5 separate regions of the Homo sapiens genome follow, and all the other regions are linked to region 3. Evidence: promoter capture Hi-C in human tissues and cell types (Jung and others, 2019). All regions are on one chromosome and are shown on one strand. The core of a region is centred on a gene start or on the middle of the fragment in contact, and the rest is flanking DNA. Distances in the headings are between cores, read along the strand shown.

Region 1 (3,070 bases), core at 1-2,500, 450 kb after region 3:
GTTTCAAAACAACAACAACAACAACAACAACAACAACCTTATTAGATTATATAGAAATGGCACCAAACAAGTTTGATCAGTGCCTTTGTCTTTTCTTGAATTATCAAAGAAGCAATAATTCTATAGAGTTAGAATGTGTCTCATGTTGCTCAACATGCATTTCAGGGTATAAAGAAGCAGTGGGTTTATTTGAGAAGGTATTTTATTTATCCTTAGAGTGTAAAGTTTTCTTCCTTTTTTTTTTTTTGAGGCAGGGTCTCGCTCTGTTACCTAGGCTGGAGTGCAGTGGCATGATCATAGCTAACTGCAGCCTCAATCTCCCATGCTCAAGCAATCCTCCCGCCACAGCATCCAGAGTAGCTGGGACTGTAGGCACATGCCACCACATTCAGTTTTTTTTTGTTTTTTTTTTTTTAATATTTTAGTAAAGACAAGGTCTTGCTATGTTGTCCAGGCTGGTCTTGAACTCCTGAGTTCAAGCGATCCTCCTGCCTCGGGCTTCCAAAGTGCTGGGATTGTGGGTGTGAGCCACTGCACCTGGCCTCTTCTATTTTTTTTTTTTTTTAATTGTTAAAAGAAAAAAGTAAGGCTGAGCGCGGTGGCTCATGCCTGTAATCCCAGCACTTTGGAAGGGTGAGGCTGAGGTCAGGAGTTCGAGACCAGCCTGGCCAACACGGTGAAAACCTGTCTCTACTAAAAATAAAAAAAGTTAGCCAGTCGTGATAGCGGGCGCCTGTAATCCCAGCTACTCGGGAGGCTGAGGCGGGAGAATCGCTTGAACCCAGAAGGCGGAGGTTGCAGGGAGCAGAGATTGTGCCACTACACTCCAGCCTGGGTGACAAGAACGAGACTCCATCTCAAAAAAAAAAAAAAAAGTAGCAAAAAATTCAAACATAGAGGCATATAGAATAAAAACACACCTCAGATCACACACCTCTTTTCAGAGGTAACCCCTCCAAACACTCTGGATTATATACCTTCAGATTTGTTGAGATGCACATGTACATAGTTAGCATATTGAGTACCTATGAGATGCCAGGCACATAGTTTTGCTTTTGTTGTGTTTTTTAACCTAAATGGTATCATACTATATATATATATATATATATATATATATATACCTCTCTGCAACTAGTTTTCTTCATTTAACATTAGACAATATTAGTGGGCATTTAAGTATTTTTAGTGTAGGGAGCTGACTTTGGATAAGGAAGAAAGGAGAGGAAGTATTAAAAGCACTAGAAATCCTATCATATTATAAAGTTAAAATAAGATCAAATTTTAGCCTCAATTTTTAATCCGTATACATAAAGCTTCAGAATCTATCTTCTACTTAAAAATAAGTTCCTATGCAATTTGACTGAACTTAAAAAGAACATGTAACAAGCTGTTTAGAGAAATAAAATGTTCACTCTTCAAGCTCTGTAGTAGTAATTAAGGGTATCTACGTTTACGTACTTCTATTTGCTTTTTATCCATTCCTCAGCGATCACATATGGGTCATACGCCCCTTTTACTACCTATATGCCCATCCTGCCACCTCTAAGACATAAAGTTCCATAGCCAGAGATACAGGACTGGTGAAATGAAGATGGCTTATGATGAAACCTGCTGCCTTCTTAAAATTGCAACCACTGCACCTTTTCTGGAAGCCAGATCAAGTTTCAAGTAAGTACAATATTTCAAACCTCTGTAACTCAGGTATCTGTAAAAAGCTGTGAGGAATCATGTTCAGTATGTATCTAAATACAAAAAGCAATGTATGCACAAAGATAGTCATTAATGAGTTACTTCTCATTTGAATGCCTAGTAAAAAAAGGAGTCTTAAGGTAAATCTACGCCCCAGAATTCACTGTCATGTGGCAGTGAATTAAAAATTGTATTTCTGGGCCAGGCGCAGTGGCTCATGCCTGTAATCCCAGCACTTTGGGAGGCCAAGGTGGGCGGATTACCTGAGGTCAGGAGTTCAAGATCAGCCTGGCCAACATGGTGAAACCCCATCTCTACTAAAAAATATATAAAAATTAGCCGGGCGTGGTGGCACATGCCTGTAAACCCAGCTACTCGGGAGGCTGAGGCAAGAGAATTGCTTGCGCCTGGGAGAGGGAGGTTGCAGTGAGCCGAGATCATGCCACTGTACTCCAGCCTGGCTGAGGGAGGTTGCAGTGAGTCGAGATCATGCCACTGTACTCCAGCCTGGCTGACAGAGCAAGACTGTCTCAAAAAAAAAAAAAAAAAAAAAATATATATATATATATATATATATATTTCTAAATGGCAACTACAGAAGTGGGAAAAATGTTCAAGATGGAGAGCCAAATAAATAAACACAGGATACATAATTATGTTAGAATTATATAAAACAAATCCACGCCACAACCTTATTCAAAAGGTGGGGGGAAAAAAGATGAAAAAAATACACAAAAATGTTGACCCAAGCCCGTTTTAAGTAGGATGAAATTTCTATGTCTATAGTCATTTTTCTAGGATTCAGAGAGACATTTAATAAATAATAAACTATAGAGTAAGAGGCAGAGGGATAGGTATTATTTCTAAAAAACCAAACTTTCTATTAATAAGAGTAATTCAAGAATGAAACAAACTTGTTTGGAGAATGAGTACCCATATTAAAGCAGGAACAGAATGCTATTGAGGACAGTATAATAAGTGAAAAGAGCATGGGCCTAGGATCAGACAGACCTGGCTTCTTATCTAGCTTTGCCACTTTTGGGAACTTGCTTATCCTCATTGACCCTAAGTTTCCTGAACTGAAAAGGTAGGGATAATACCTCAAATACAGTATCATATATGAGGATTCACAGAGGCAATGTGTAAAATGCATCGTGCTTGGCATGTAATAATGAAAGTAATAGTGGATGTTGTAATGGTGGTGATGCTTATTTAAGCATCAGGTAAGTTTGAGTTGATAACCTTAAAATTTCCTTCCAAATAACAGTCCATTAGAAAGCCAGTAGTTAATCTATAAAAACTTTCAAGTATTAAATAGTCCAGGCTTGAAATAATGATATAAAGAGCACAGAAGTTCCAAAGACCCTTTCTTATCTAGATG
Region 2 (3,037 bases), core at 229-2,728, 430 kb after region 3:
AGGTCGGAGTGACTGGCCCGTGACCCAACAGATTTCAAGTTGGACGAGGGGCGGGACTCCGGCCCCCGCCAGGAGACAGAGGGGCGGCCGTTATGTAAATGAGGTTCCTCCCTGACTCTCGGCCGCCAGGCCGTGGTGCCTCGCGCGCCTCCTGCTGCTGGCTGGCGTTAGGCGCGCGCTCCCAGAGCCAGGTGTACGCGCTTTTTCGCGGTCTTTGCCCTAGCCGACGTGCATCGGATTGGCAGGGCACGCGGCCAATGAGCAGTGCGGACTGAGGCGCGGCACGGGGAGGAGGCGTGGAAGGGGATCCCGGTGAGGAGAGCCACTGGGAGAGTTCGCTCAATTCCTGAGGTTTTAAATGCAGTTCACTGCTAGGGTGCCGACTCACTGAGCACGCAGGGGCGGAGGAATTCATTCTGAGTTGGTTGCACCGAAGAAATAAAGCTCGAGCAGCTTGTTTTCCCCGGCGCCGTCCAAGGGGAGGGAATAGGGAATTGGGGTGGCTGGGGTGGGGGGTGAGGGCGGATCCCTTGGACGGGGATTAAAGAAAAGAAAAAGTCTGAACCGGCGGTCGGCCTCCTGGGATTTTATGGTGGGTGCTTCACTGCGTCTCAGTGGTTGTGAGCGCTCGATTAAAACTGCCTGGCTGGGGCCGGGCGCAGTGGCTAACGCCTGTAATCCCAGCACTTGGGAGGCCGAGGCGGCCGGATCACGACGTTAAGACATCGAGACCATCCTGGCCAACATGGTGAAAGCCCGTCTCTACTAAAGATACAAAAATTAGCTGGGCGTGGTGGCGCGTGCCTGTAGTCTCAGCTACTCGGGAGGCTGAGGCAGGAGAATCGCTTGAACCCGGGAGGTGGAGGTTGCAGTGAGCCGAGATCACGCCACTACACTCCAGCCTGGGCGACTGAGCGAGACTCCGTCTCAAAAAAAACAAAAAAAAACCCCACTGCCTGGCGGGCGGAGAGAACCTGAGCCCAGGGCGAGGCCGACCGTTTTCCCGCGCCGCGTGAGGGCGGCTGGCGGGACGGCAGACAGGGGTGTGGCGGCGACTTGTCCTCCGAGGAGCCTGCATTTAAACCCTTCCTGCCTCACTCTTCCTTTTTCCTGTTTGTCCTGCCGCTTTAAACTCTGGTTTCGCCTTCCTGTTCATTCCATTGCTTATTTTAGGTCGCAAGTGCTTTATCCACTGCTTTGAGTTTTTGACTGGAAAACCCATAATATAATCAGTCAAAACCCACACGTTGAAACACCATAAAGTCACCCAGTCTCGGTCACCCTGGCACACACGGGGTTGTGATCGTGACCTAGTCATGTTTCTGACTCCGCTCAATGGAATGGAATGATTTTCTTTGGCTGTGCTGAGGTTAATATTGGAGGCATAAACCCTCCGAGAAGGTAGATGAAAAGGAGCGCGATTCACTTCCTCCTGTTTAACAGGAATGTGAGGACAGGTCTGGAAAATACCCTGGCACCAGGTAATAATCTTTAGAAGCAGGCTCCCATATAAATGGGCTCCTGGACGGGTGTGGAGGCTCATGCCTGTAGTTTCAGCACTTTGAAAGGCCGCGGTAGGTGGATCACTTGCTGTCAGAAGTTCGAGGCCAGCCTGGCCAACATGGTGAAACCCCGTCTCTACTAAAAATACAAAAATTAGCCGGGCGTGGTGGCGCGCGCCTGTAGTCCCAGCTACTCGAGAGGCAGAGGTTGCAGTCAGTCGAGATTGCGACACTGCACTCCAGCCTGGGCGACAGAACGAGACTCCGTCTCAAAAAAATAAAATAAATGGTCTCCAGGAGGAAGCAAAGACAGCGATCACTTTACATAATATGTGTGGGGAGGCTGGGGAAGTCCTTCCATCAAGCTTGAACAGGTACCTACTACGTGGCAGTAAAAAGCCAAATGAAATGGCCTGGTCTTCAGAGGTGGAGAGTCTAATAAACAGGTAAACATAATTTGGGAGAAGCGCTGAAAGCAAAGCGCCATGGGAACACAGAGGGGCACACCCAGGCTGATGGAAAAGTGCGTTGCTGAGAGCTACCTGGAAGAGGTGGCATGCCTAATCCGGGAGCTGAAGTTCGCCAGCAAAGAGTAGGAAAGCCATTCTTTACATAGGTTGTGTATGGGCGAAGATGAGAGCAATGTTTGCTGGACTAGGATTTCTGTACAGAAGATTAGTGTCACTAGAAGGGAGGGATACAGGCAAGCAATAGGCTCTTCAGGTGGATAGGATACATCTCAGAGCTTTTTGAGCCATGGTCTTTTTCCTGAGGCTTTGGGCTGGGAGCACCGTCCTTTAAAGCAGGCTAGTGATGTGCAGCCATGTAAAAGCTGTATGAAATGGCGCTGGAGAAAAGCTTTTGTCAACCCAGAAGTTATCTGTGACCAAAAAGTAATGTTGAGAGAATTCTATAAAGTCAATGAACATTTAAGATTATTTTATCTAGTGGTGTATATCATTTCCAGTTTTTAAGAACATAATTGGTTATTAATCGGTTAATGTCATCAGTTAGTACTAATTTTAACCATAATTCCTATCCTCTTTTCCATGAATTTGAAAAAATTTTGAAAAAGGGGACGTTTTAAAGAAAATATTAGAAAGGCTGGACGCGGTGGCTCATGCCTGTAATCCCAGCACTTTGGGAGGCCGAGGCGCGTGGATCACGAGGTCAGAAGTTCAAGACCAGCCTGGCCAAGATGGTGAAACCCTGTCTCTACTAAAAATACAAAAATTAGCCGGGCCTGGTGGTGGGCGCCTGTAATCCCAGCTACTTGGGAGGCTGAGGCAGAGGATTGCTTGAATCCGGGAGGCAGAGGTTGCAGTGAGCTGAGATCACGCCACTGCACTCCAGCCTGGGCGACAGAGCAAGACTCTGTCTAAAAAAAAAAAGAAAAAGAAAAGAAAATATTAGGAAAACAAGGATAAAACCCAGACTTTTCTAATTGAAACTGTCATAAATTGTGAGTACAGATCTCTTGATTTTATTCTTGGAAATTCTTGTCTTTTGTGTAGTTTGGGGGTGGGGGGTATTTG
Region 3 (2,924 bases), core at 314-2,813:
TTTTTGAGACAGAGTTTTGCTCTTGTTGCCCAGGCTGGAGTGCAATGGCGCAATCTCGGCTCACCGCAACCTTCGCCTCTCAGGTTCAAGCAATTCTCCTGCCTCAGCCTCCCGAGTAGCTGGGATTACAGGCACCGGCCACCACGCCCAGCTAATTTTTTTATATTTTTAGTAGAGATGGGGTTTCACCATGTTGGCCAGGCTGGTCTTGAACTTTTCCCCTCTTATTATAATTCAGACACTTAACCTGAAATATACCTTTTCAAATGAAGTAAATGGGCTTACCACTTTCCTTGACCTACTATTGAAAAATACATTCTCCATCCAATATTCAGCCTGAAAACAGGTATGTACATATATACTTTTCATTGCTTTTTTTTTTTTTTTTTTGAGACAAGGTCTCCCTCTGTTGCGCAGGCTGGAGTGCAGTGTCATGATCTCGGCTCACTGCAGCCTTCCCCTAATGGGTTCAAGCAATCCTCCCACCTCAGCCTCTCAAGCCTGGGATTACAGGCGAGCCACCGTGCCCAGCTAATTTTTTTTTATTTTTAGTAGAGACTGGGTTTCACTACATTGGCCAGGCTGGTCTCCAGCTCCTGACCTCAAAGTGATCTGCCCGCCTCAGCCTCCCAAAGTACTGGGATTACAGGCATGAGCCAACGCGCCTAGCCTTTCATTGCTTTTTAAAGACCTAATAGGCTAGACTTTGCTCTCCCTCAATACTCGTTGGTAGGGATAGGCAATTTTCTCAACTCCGGAGAGCATTCATTTGCCTCTCTCCGGTGCTAACACATTCAGTGGTAGGAAACTGGATCTTGAACAAGGGCCATTCATTCTTTGGTGCCACTGGCTATACCACAGAGAAATTTAGGGGTCTGAAACAATACATTGGTCACCTGGGCACCTATCCTAAGCACCTTAGAGGGAAAACGGAGACTTGCCCGCACACCTCTAAAGGATTTTGCACTTGGAGATGTTCTTATGGCCATCTATCTTTTCACCCTGGTGGAGGCCGTGAATAGGCATTTTCCCCATTTAAAGAAAAAATGGGGACGGGGGAGGGCCGTGACACAGTCACACAGGTAAGGGGCAGCCAGATGGCAGGGAGGGGGAATTCCACCCACACTCTCGGGGACTCATGGAGACGGGTGTTCGAATCCAGATCCTGCTCAAGGCCTTCCTACCTCGGGTGAGCCCAGCTGAGGTACCAGCCACTGGGGAGCCCGGCCAGATCCTGCAGATGCAGGGTGCCACGGCGGGCGGAATTACCGGCGCCAGACTTGGGGTGGGATATGGGGAGAAGTGGTGAGCCCGGAAAGCGGAGCACGGTAGAAGTGGGCTGGGTGGGGGCTCACCTCAACTCCCCCATTCGGAGCGTCCGCGGAAAAACGAAAACGTTCCCCCGCCCCGGGCAGGAAGGGGTTGGGAGGGGGGGCTGGCGCCCCGCCCCAGCGTCGCCTGCTCGATGGGGTCCCGCTCTCCTGCGCGCGCTCCCCGCCCCCTCTCTCCGGGGCGGCGGCGGCGGCGCAGGGGAAGGGGCGGGCAGGGGCCGCCGCCGGTTTCTCCTCCCACCGCCTCGCGCCAGCCCAGCCGAGCCGAGCCGAGCCGAGCGGGCGCCGCGCCGGGCTCCCGCCGCAGCCGCGCTTCCCGGCACCCAGCGAGCGAGTGGGCAGGCGGGCGGGCGAGGCAGCCGCGGGGGCCGGGCCCGGCGTCCTCCTCGCCGCCCGCAGCGTCCCCGGGCGGGCGCGGGCCGCGATGGCAGCGGCGGAGCAGGGCTGAGCCCGCTGCCCGCCCGCAGTTCCCGGCCCCGCTGGCCCCAGTCATGGCGAAGCAGTACGATGTGCTGTTCCGGCTGCTGCTGATCGGGGACTCCGGGGTGGGCAAGACCTGCCTGCTGTGCCGCTTCACCGACAACGAGTTCCACTCCTCGCACATCTCCACCATCGGTAAGGGGCGGTGGCCCGGGGCGCCCCTCCCTCCCCGCCCGCGGCCCCTTTCCCCGCCGCCCCCGTCCCCAGCTGGGGAGGAATTGCCAGCCCCTCCGGCTGGAGGCGGTGGCGCCGGAGGCCGGAGTCCGGGATAAATCTCGGGGTGAGCATAGGTTTTGGCAGGTGAGGGTGTCCCTGCTGCCTGCCGTCCGGACCAGGGGTGGGGTCTCCCGCCTCTTGCCGGGAAGCCTTCCGTCCCATCAAACCGAGAAACCGGGGGTGAGGGGAGCTGGTGTAGGCCTGGGTACCCCGAGCTGGGGTAGCAAGAATCGTAGCCGCTGGAATAACATCCCCACACCCCCAGGGGGAGGGGAAGTAAAGCTTCTGCTACGGAAAAGGGGGTCAGGGTGGAGACCGGAGTCACTGAGGCGCCCTTGGTTCTGTGGTGACCCAAGGTGGAGCCGGCGGGGGGCGAGGGGGGGAAGAGAGGACGTACGGAGGGGCCACAGGGATCGAGTTTCCAGGGCAGAGTTGGGAAGGTAAGCCGCAAGGTGGGACACCTGGGGGAGGACACAGATAGGGTGAGGAGCCCCTGCGCCTGGGAAGAGGAGACATCTGTTCTGAGGGAGGCTAAAGAGGATGGAGGAGTGTCAGGAATACCTGCCCAGACCAAGGGGTCAGAAGGCAGGCAGGACCCGCCTGAGGGCATCTCTCATCTGGCAGTGCTGGAGCCTGTGGTTAGAGGGACAAGACCCGGTGGCATCCCAGACAGCACTATGATGGGGTCACTTATTCTAGGAATGGGTCCATGGCCTCCCCTCTGAGACAGTCAGTCTCCCGCTTCTAGGCTGTGAGGGGCCCCCTCCCTGAGAAGTCTGAGTAGAGGGAATTTCATCCTCAGCTGCTACCCGGGTCAGCCCTGGAGTAGCCTCTGCATTGCCCAGGCCCCTGGAAACACCTGCTGGCTGGCTGGTCATCCATTTGGAATGCTCTCCT
Region 4 (3,042 bases), core at 310-2,809, 260 kb before region 3:
AAATGCTTGAGGAGAAGGATATGCCATTTTCCATGATGGGATTATTATGCATTCCATGCTTGTATCAAAGTATCTCATGTACCGCATAAATATATACACAACTATGTAACCCCAAAAATGAAAAATTAAAAATTTTTTTAAAACGAAGTTTCACTCTTGTCACCCAGGCTGGAGTGCAATGGCACCATCTTGGCTCACGGCAACCTCCACCTCCTAGGTTCAAGCGATTCTCCTGCCTCAGCCTCCTGAGTAGCTGAGATTACAGGCATGTGCCACCATGCCGGACTAATTTTTGTATTTTTAGTAGAGATGGGGTTTCACCATGTTGGCCAAGGCTAGTCTCGAACTCCTGACCTCAGGTGACCCACCCGCCTCGGCCTCCCAAAGTGCTGGGATTACAGGCATGAGCCACCATGCCCGGCCCAAAAAAAAATTTTAAAGAAACTTTTTAGGCCCGGTGTGGTGGCTCATGCCTGTAACTCCAGCACTTTAGGAGGCTGAGGCAGGAGGATCACGAGGTCAGGAGATTGAGACTATCCTGGCTAACACGGTGAAACCCCGTCTCTACTAAAAATACAAAAAATTAGCCGGGCATGGTGGTGGGCGCCCGTAGTCCCAGCTGCTAGGGAGGCTGAGACAGGAGAATGGCATGAACCCGGGAGGCGGAGCTTGCAGTGAGCAGAGATCACGCCACTGCACTCCAGCCTGGGTGACAGAGCAAGACTCCGCCTAAAAAAAAAAAACTTTTTAGTGGATGCTGAACATTATAAGGGTTATGGTGTTGAGAGACTGTCCTTTTTATTTTAGTGAGGTAGTTTAAGTTTCTTAATGATCATCATGATCCTTTTGGGGCTTGTTTTCAAGCTTTGTGAGAGCAGGCCTAGAGAAACCTTCTCTCTAGAGCTAGTTAAGTCTTACTCCTAAGGCCTAGGTTTTCTGGGGTCTCTACTAAATGTCCCAGGTGTTCAGTGAGACCCCACTGAACTATTTATTTTAGCTGGCTACAATAGTTTATTATATTTAATAATAAATAGTTTATTATTATAAATAAATAATTTATTCTAGCTGGCTAGCTGGCTAGAGCTCAAAAAACTTCCAACTACGTATAGGCTTCTGGAAGCGCTCAGTTTATAGCTCACCAGTATTTGTTATTTCCCATTGTTGCTATTTATCCAGACTCATGGAGCCTTACCATGGGCATGTGTAGCCTAGTATTCAACCAAATACTTTAGACAAGTACTTTTGTCAAGTGTCTAGAGGTCTTTGTGCAGTTCTCTCCTCCCTGGTAATCTGCCTGGCAAATTCCAACCACCTTGGGTCTCTGTCTCCTCAACTCAGCAAGACTTCTGTGTTCTGCTTGGCTTCCCGTCTCCAGGTAGTAGTCTGGAATGTGCTTCTAGGCAAAAAGCTGCGGCAATGTAGGGATCGCCTCATTTGTTTCACTTCTCTCAGGAAATATCTGAGATGTGTGAACACAGTCGTTTCATGTACTTTGTCTAGTTTTCTAGATGTTTACCATGGGACGGCTGGTTCAGTATCTGCCTGTTTGCTTTCTGATCACATGAATTCACATGCAGTCTTTCTCTACTCCTGGGCAGCTTCACCTGAACTTCCTCCTTCTTTTCATGCACATAAGTGAAATAAGTGCTTAAAACCAAAGGTCCTGGATTTTAGACACTACTGGAGCCCGCTGGACTAGGAGCCTTGCTTTATCTTAGCCTCATAAAACTGACCCTCTGAGGATTTGAGAAAGTTAATCCTAATCCCCAATGCTAAAGGACACATTATCTCCTAGATGCAGCCAAACAATCACAGGGCACCATTGTATTCTTTTAAATCAAACACCCTGTTTCTTGCAGATATAAATTAGCATTATTTTAAAAGGTTGAAGAAGATACACCAAAATATTAACAGTGATTATCTCTGTGGAATGAACTTTTGGGTTTCTTTTTGCTCTTCTTGGAGTTTTCAATTTTTTTTTTGGCTTTTATCATTATTATAATTTTTTTATTTTTTATTTTTTGAGAAGGAGTCTCGCTGTGTCACCCAGGCTGGAGTGCAGTGGCGCAATCTCAGCTCACTGCAACCCCCACCTCCCAGGTTCAAGCAATTCTCCTGCCTCAGCCTCTCCAGTAGCTGGAATTACAGGCGCCTGCCACCACGCCCGGCTAATTTTTGTATTTTTGGTAGAGACAGGGTTTATACATGTTTGCCAGGCTGGTCTTGAACTCCTGACCTCAAGTGATCCGCCCACCTCCACCTTCCAAAGTGCTAGGATTACAGGCTTTTATCATTATTTCTAATTGACACATAATAATTGTACATATTTATGGGAAACTGTGATATTTTGATACATGTATACAGTGTATGAGTTTCAATTTTTAAAATAAACATGCAATACCTTAAAAATTTTTTAATGTTTTAAATGTACTTATTTTTCTGACTCTGTTGCTTGAATCAGAAGTATGCTATTTTTATAATAAGAAAAAGAATTATGCCCTATAGTTGTGTACTCCTCCCACTCAATGACATTTCATTGTGCCTTAGTACAAATAATAGAGGCCAGGGGTGTAACTGATGGTTGATACGGAGCTCACCTGGATGACAGCCAAGTTCTGCCCCCACTCAACAGAAGAACAGGCCTATTGAATTCTGACTCCCTCCCTTCCCTCCTGTCCCCAAACAAAACGTTATTTGAAGAGTTTCCTTGTTCTCCAAGCAAATGAGAGCAGTCCAGAAAAACATTTCTCTCTCAGAAGCTTTTCCAGAAGTTTCCGATAAAGCTAAGACTCCCAGAAGAGCGTAAGTCAAGTAGCCAAGAGAAAGAGGAGTGACTGCCGGTTTCCGCGGGGCATCAGCGTGGGTTCCTGGGCATTGCTCCCCATCATGCAGTCTAACGGCAGAGGAGAGGACAGCCTTCCTGCTACCGGGAATCTTACAGCTGCCTGCCCCCCAACTCTACTTCCCCTTTAAAACAAAAAACAAAAACCCGCTCCTCAGAATCCAGACCAGAAACGATGGAGACATTAGCATACTCTGGCA
Region 5 (2,927 bases), core at 418-2,917, 480 kb after region 3:
GATCAGTTCTTTCTTTTGTGTGTGTGTGTGTGTTTTTGAGACAGAGTCTCACTGTTGCCCAGGCTGGAGTGCAGTGGTGTGATCACAGCTCACTGCAGCCTTGACCTCCCAGTCTTAAGTGATCCTCCTGCCTCAGCCCCTCAAGTAGTTGGGAGTACAGGTGCATGCCACCATACCTAGCTAATTGTTTTATTTTTTGTGGAGATGACGTTTCACTATATTGCTCAGGTTGGTCTCCAATACCTGGGCTCAAGCAACCCTCCTGCCTCATCCTCCCAAGGTGCTGGGATTACAGGCATGAGCCACTGCGCCAGCTTAAGTTCTTTCTCAGGAGGCTCTTGGGCCACAAGTAAATTGGGGATGTGGCTTGACATCTATTTTAAGAGTTCCTGAGCTACTGTGATGATAAGTCCCCCAAACATTTGATGAGAGTTGGGAAGCCAGTATCCCCTGAGCACCAGAGGATCCCTGAGGAGGAGTGACATCTCTAGCTCAGCCAGGATACCGTGTTATGTTATTAACATTTATAGCTAACATCGAATAGCAGTTTCCATTACAACATGATTTTCACATAAGTTATTTAACTCTGAGGCAGGAATCAGTATCTCATTTTCATTTTTCTAATGAGGAAACAAGATTAGAAACATTGTGTTCACATAGATGGAAAAGGACAGGTCTGTCTTCATGTGTCACTCATACCAAGCTATCTTCTTACCAGATGAAAAAGGGTCATATTTTATGGTTCAGCAGAGTTTATATCAGTTGTCATAATGGAGGAATTTAGTGTTAGCCGTGTTTGCAGTGAAAGTAATAGGATTGAAAACTTGAATAATTTCATTTAAATTTAGATCTCCTTGTTACTCTGTAGGTTTGTGTGAACTGTAGACAATTTTGTATTAATAAAAAATAATGCGTATATACATACACACCTATCTACATTTATCTTGTCCTTTTTTTCAGAACCACAATGGACACTGCCAGCCATAGCCTTGTTCTTCTCCAGCAGCTGAACATGCAGCGAGAATTTGGTTTTCTGTGTGATTGCACAGTTGCAATTGGAGATGTTTACTTCAAAGCCCACAGAGCAGTGCTTGCTGCTTTTTCTAACTATTTCAAGATGATATTTATTCACCAAACAAGGTAAGGATGTGTTTTTGTAAATAAGAATTTTTAATATTGTGATTTATATAAGCTTTATTATAGTATCATTTTGGAAATTCTTTGTTACGGAGTCACACTAAGAAGTAAAATTATAATTTTTTTTTTTTTTTTTTTTTTTTTTTTTTTTTTTTGGCGACAGAGTCTTGCTCTGTCACCCAGGCTGGAGTGCAATGGTTCAGTGTCGGCTCACTGCAACCTCTGCCTCCCAGGTACAAGCGATTCTCCTGCCTCAGCCTCCCGAGTACCTGGGATTACAGGCGCCTGCCACCACGCCCGGTTAATTTTTGTATTTTTAGTAGAGGCAGGGTTTCACCATGTTGGCCAGGCTGATCTCAAACTCCTGACCTCAGGTGATCCGCCTGCCTCAGCCTCCCAAAGTGCTGGGATTACAGGCATGAGCCACCATGCCTGGCCAAATTATAATAATTTTTTATACATTAGTAATTAAACTCAGTGTGTAGGATCCATAATGGAAAATAAGAATGAAAATAAGAATAGCTAAAATTGGCTGGGCGCCATGGCTCACGCCTGTAATCCCAGCACTTTGGGAGGCCAAGGTGGGCGGATCACAAGGTCAGGAGTTCGAGACCAGCCTGGCCAATATGGTGAAACCCCGTCTCTACTAAAAATACAAAAATTAGCCAGGCATGGTGGTGGGCGCCTGTAGTCCCAGCTACTCGGGAGGCTGAGGGAGGAGAATTGCGTGTACCTATGAGGTGAAGGTTGCAGTGAGCCGAGATCGCGCCACTGCATTCCAGCCTGGGTGACAGAGCGAGACTCTGTCTCAAAAAAAAAAAAAGAAAAAGGAAAGAATAGCTAAAATTTATTGAAGGCTTATCCCATACCCAAGCACTAAGTATTTGCCCTATAATGTAAATTCTACTGCTGTCCCTATTTCAGGAAAAAGAAAACTGAGACTGAGTTAAGTAACATGCCCATGCAGGATTATACAGCTAATAAGTTAGATGCAGATTTGTCTGAAGCTATGTCTATGCTTTTAGTCACTAAGCTGTTAATTTTTGTTTCATATAACACTTTTGTTTTTTTTATTTTTTATTTTTATTTTTTTTGAGACGGAGTCTAGCTCTGTCACCCAGGCTGGAGTGCAGTGGTGCCCAGGCTGAAGTGCAGTGGCATGATCTCAGCTCACTGCAACCTCCGCCTCCCAGGTTCAAGCAATTCTCTTGCTTCAGTCTCCCTAGTAGCTAGGACCACAGGTGTGCGCCACCACACCCGGCTAATTTTTTGTAATTTTAGTAGAGACAGGGTTTCACCATGTTGGTTAGGCTCCTCTTGAACTCCTGACCTCAGATGATCCACCTGCCTCGGCCTCCCAAAGTGCTGGAATTACAGGCGTGAGCCACCGCACCCTGCTGATTTCAATAGGTTCTTTCAGAAGTTTTAAGATATCTTTATTGTGGCTATAAACATATAAAATTTGCCATTTTAACCATTTTTAATTATACAATGCAGTGGTGATAATCACATTCGCAATGTTGTACAACCATTACCACTGTCTATTTCCAAAACTTTTTTATCACCCCAAACAGAAACTTTGTACCCATTAAGCAATAACTCCCCATCTCACCCTCTCAACCCCCAGAAACCGCTAATTTACTTTCTATCTCTATGAATTTGCCTATTCTAGATATTTTATATAATACTTGTCCTTTTGTGTCTGGCTTATTTTACTTAGCATGATATTTTCTGGGTTCTCCATGTTGTAGCATGTATCAGAACTTCCTTCTTTTTATGGTTGAATAATA

The links. The method cuts DNA at HindIII sites, captures the fragments that hold promoters and counts their contacts. A contact is called where the count stands out against the background at its distance.
Region 1: a contact is called between a fragment that was not itself captured here and the fragment with the promoter of RAB15 in region 3, in 2 of the 25 tissues and cell types used here (dorsolateral prefrontal cortex and hippocampus).
Region 2: a contact is called between a fragment that was not itself captured here and the fragment with the promoter of RAB15 in region 3, in 1 of the 25 tissues and cell types used here (H1 embryonic stem cells).
Region 4: a contact is called between a fragment that was not itself captured here and the fragment with the promoter of RAB15 in region 3, in 1 of the 25 tissues and cell types used here (spleen).
Region 5: a contact is called between a fragment that was not itself captured here and the fragment with the promoter of RAB15 in region 3, in 1 of the 25 tissues and cell types used here (dorsolateral prefrontal cortex).

Annotation. Positions count from the first base shown.
Region 1 is chr14:64,516,955-64,520,024 of GRCh38, reverse strand. The region is part of intron 1 of ZBTB1 (zinc finger and BTB domain containing 1); the gene reads right to left. It overlaps HSPA2-AS1 (HSPA2 and ZBTB1 antisense RNA 1), which reads left to right. Exons shown (of 4, transcript NR_110550.1): 3 at 1,487-1,668. Among named protein-coding and RNA genes, the nearest start is that of ZBTB1, 14 kb to the right of the region's middle. The HindIII fragment of the contact is 5,320 bases long and covers 1-3,070 here.
Region 2 is chr14:64,537,592-64,540,628 of GRCh38, reverse strand. HSPA2-AS1 (HSPA2 and ZBTB1 antisense RNA 1) reads left to right here and starts at 261. Exons shown (of 4, transcript NR_110550.1): 1 at 261-312. It also overlaps a transcript of HSPA2 not described here. RefSeq lists a silencer at 24-113. The HindIII fragment of the contact is 3,230 bases long and covers 1-3,037 here.
Region 3 is chr14:64,970,975-64,973,898 of GRCh38, reverse strand. It overlaps RAB15 (RAB15, member RAS oncogene family), which reads left to right and starts at 1,563. Exons shown (of 7, transcript NM_001308154.2): 1 at 1,563-1,946. The coding sequence starts at 1,823. All of the region lies in intron 3 of CHURC1-FNTB (CHURC1-FNTB readthrough), which reads right to left. RefSeq lists a silencer at 1,401-1,770. The HindIII fragment of the contact is 7,421 bases long and covers 1-2,924 here.
Region 4 is chr14:65,230,191-65,233,232 of GRCh38, reverse strand. No RefSeq gene overlaps it. Among named protein-coding and RNA genes, the nearest start is that of LINC02324, 9.4 kb to the right of the region's middle. The HindIII fragment of the contact is 3,277 bases long and covers 1-3,042 here.
Region 5 is chr14:64,488,574-64,491,500 of GRCh38, reverse strand. It overlaps ZBTB25 (zinc finger and BTB domain containing 25), which reads left to right. Exons shown (of 3, transcript NM_006977.5): 2 at 961-1,140. The coding sequence starts at 968. Among named protein-coding and RNA genes, the nearest start is that of ZBTB25, 14 kb to the left of the region's middle. The HindIII fragment of the contact is 3,901 bases long and covers 1-2,927 here.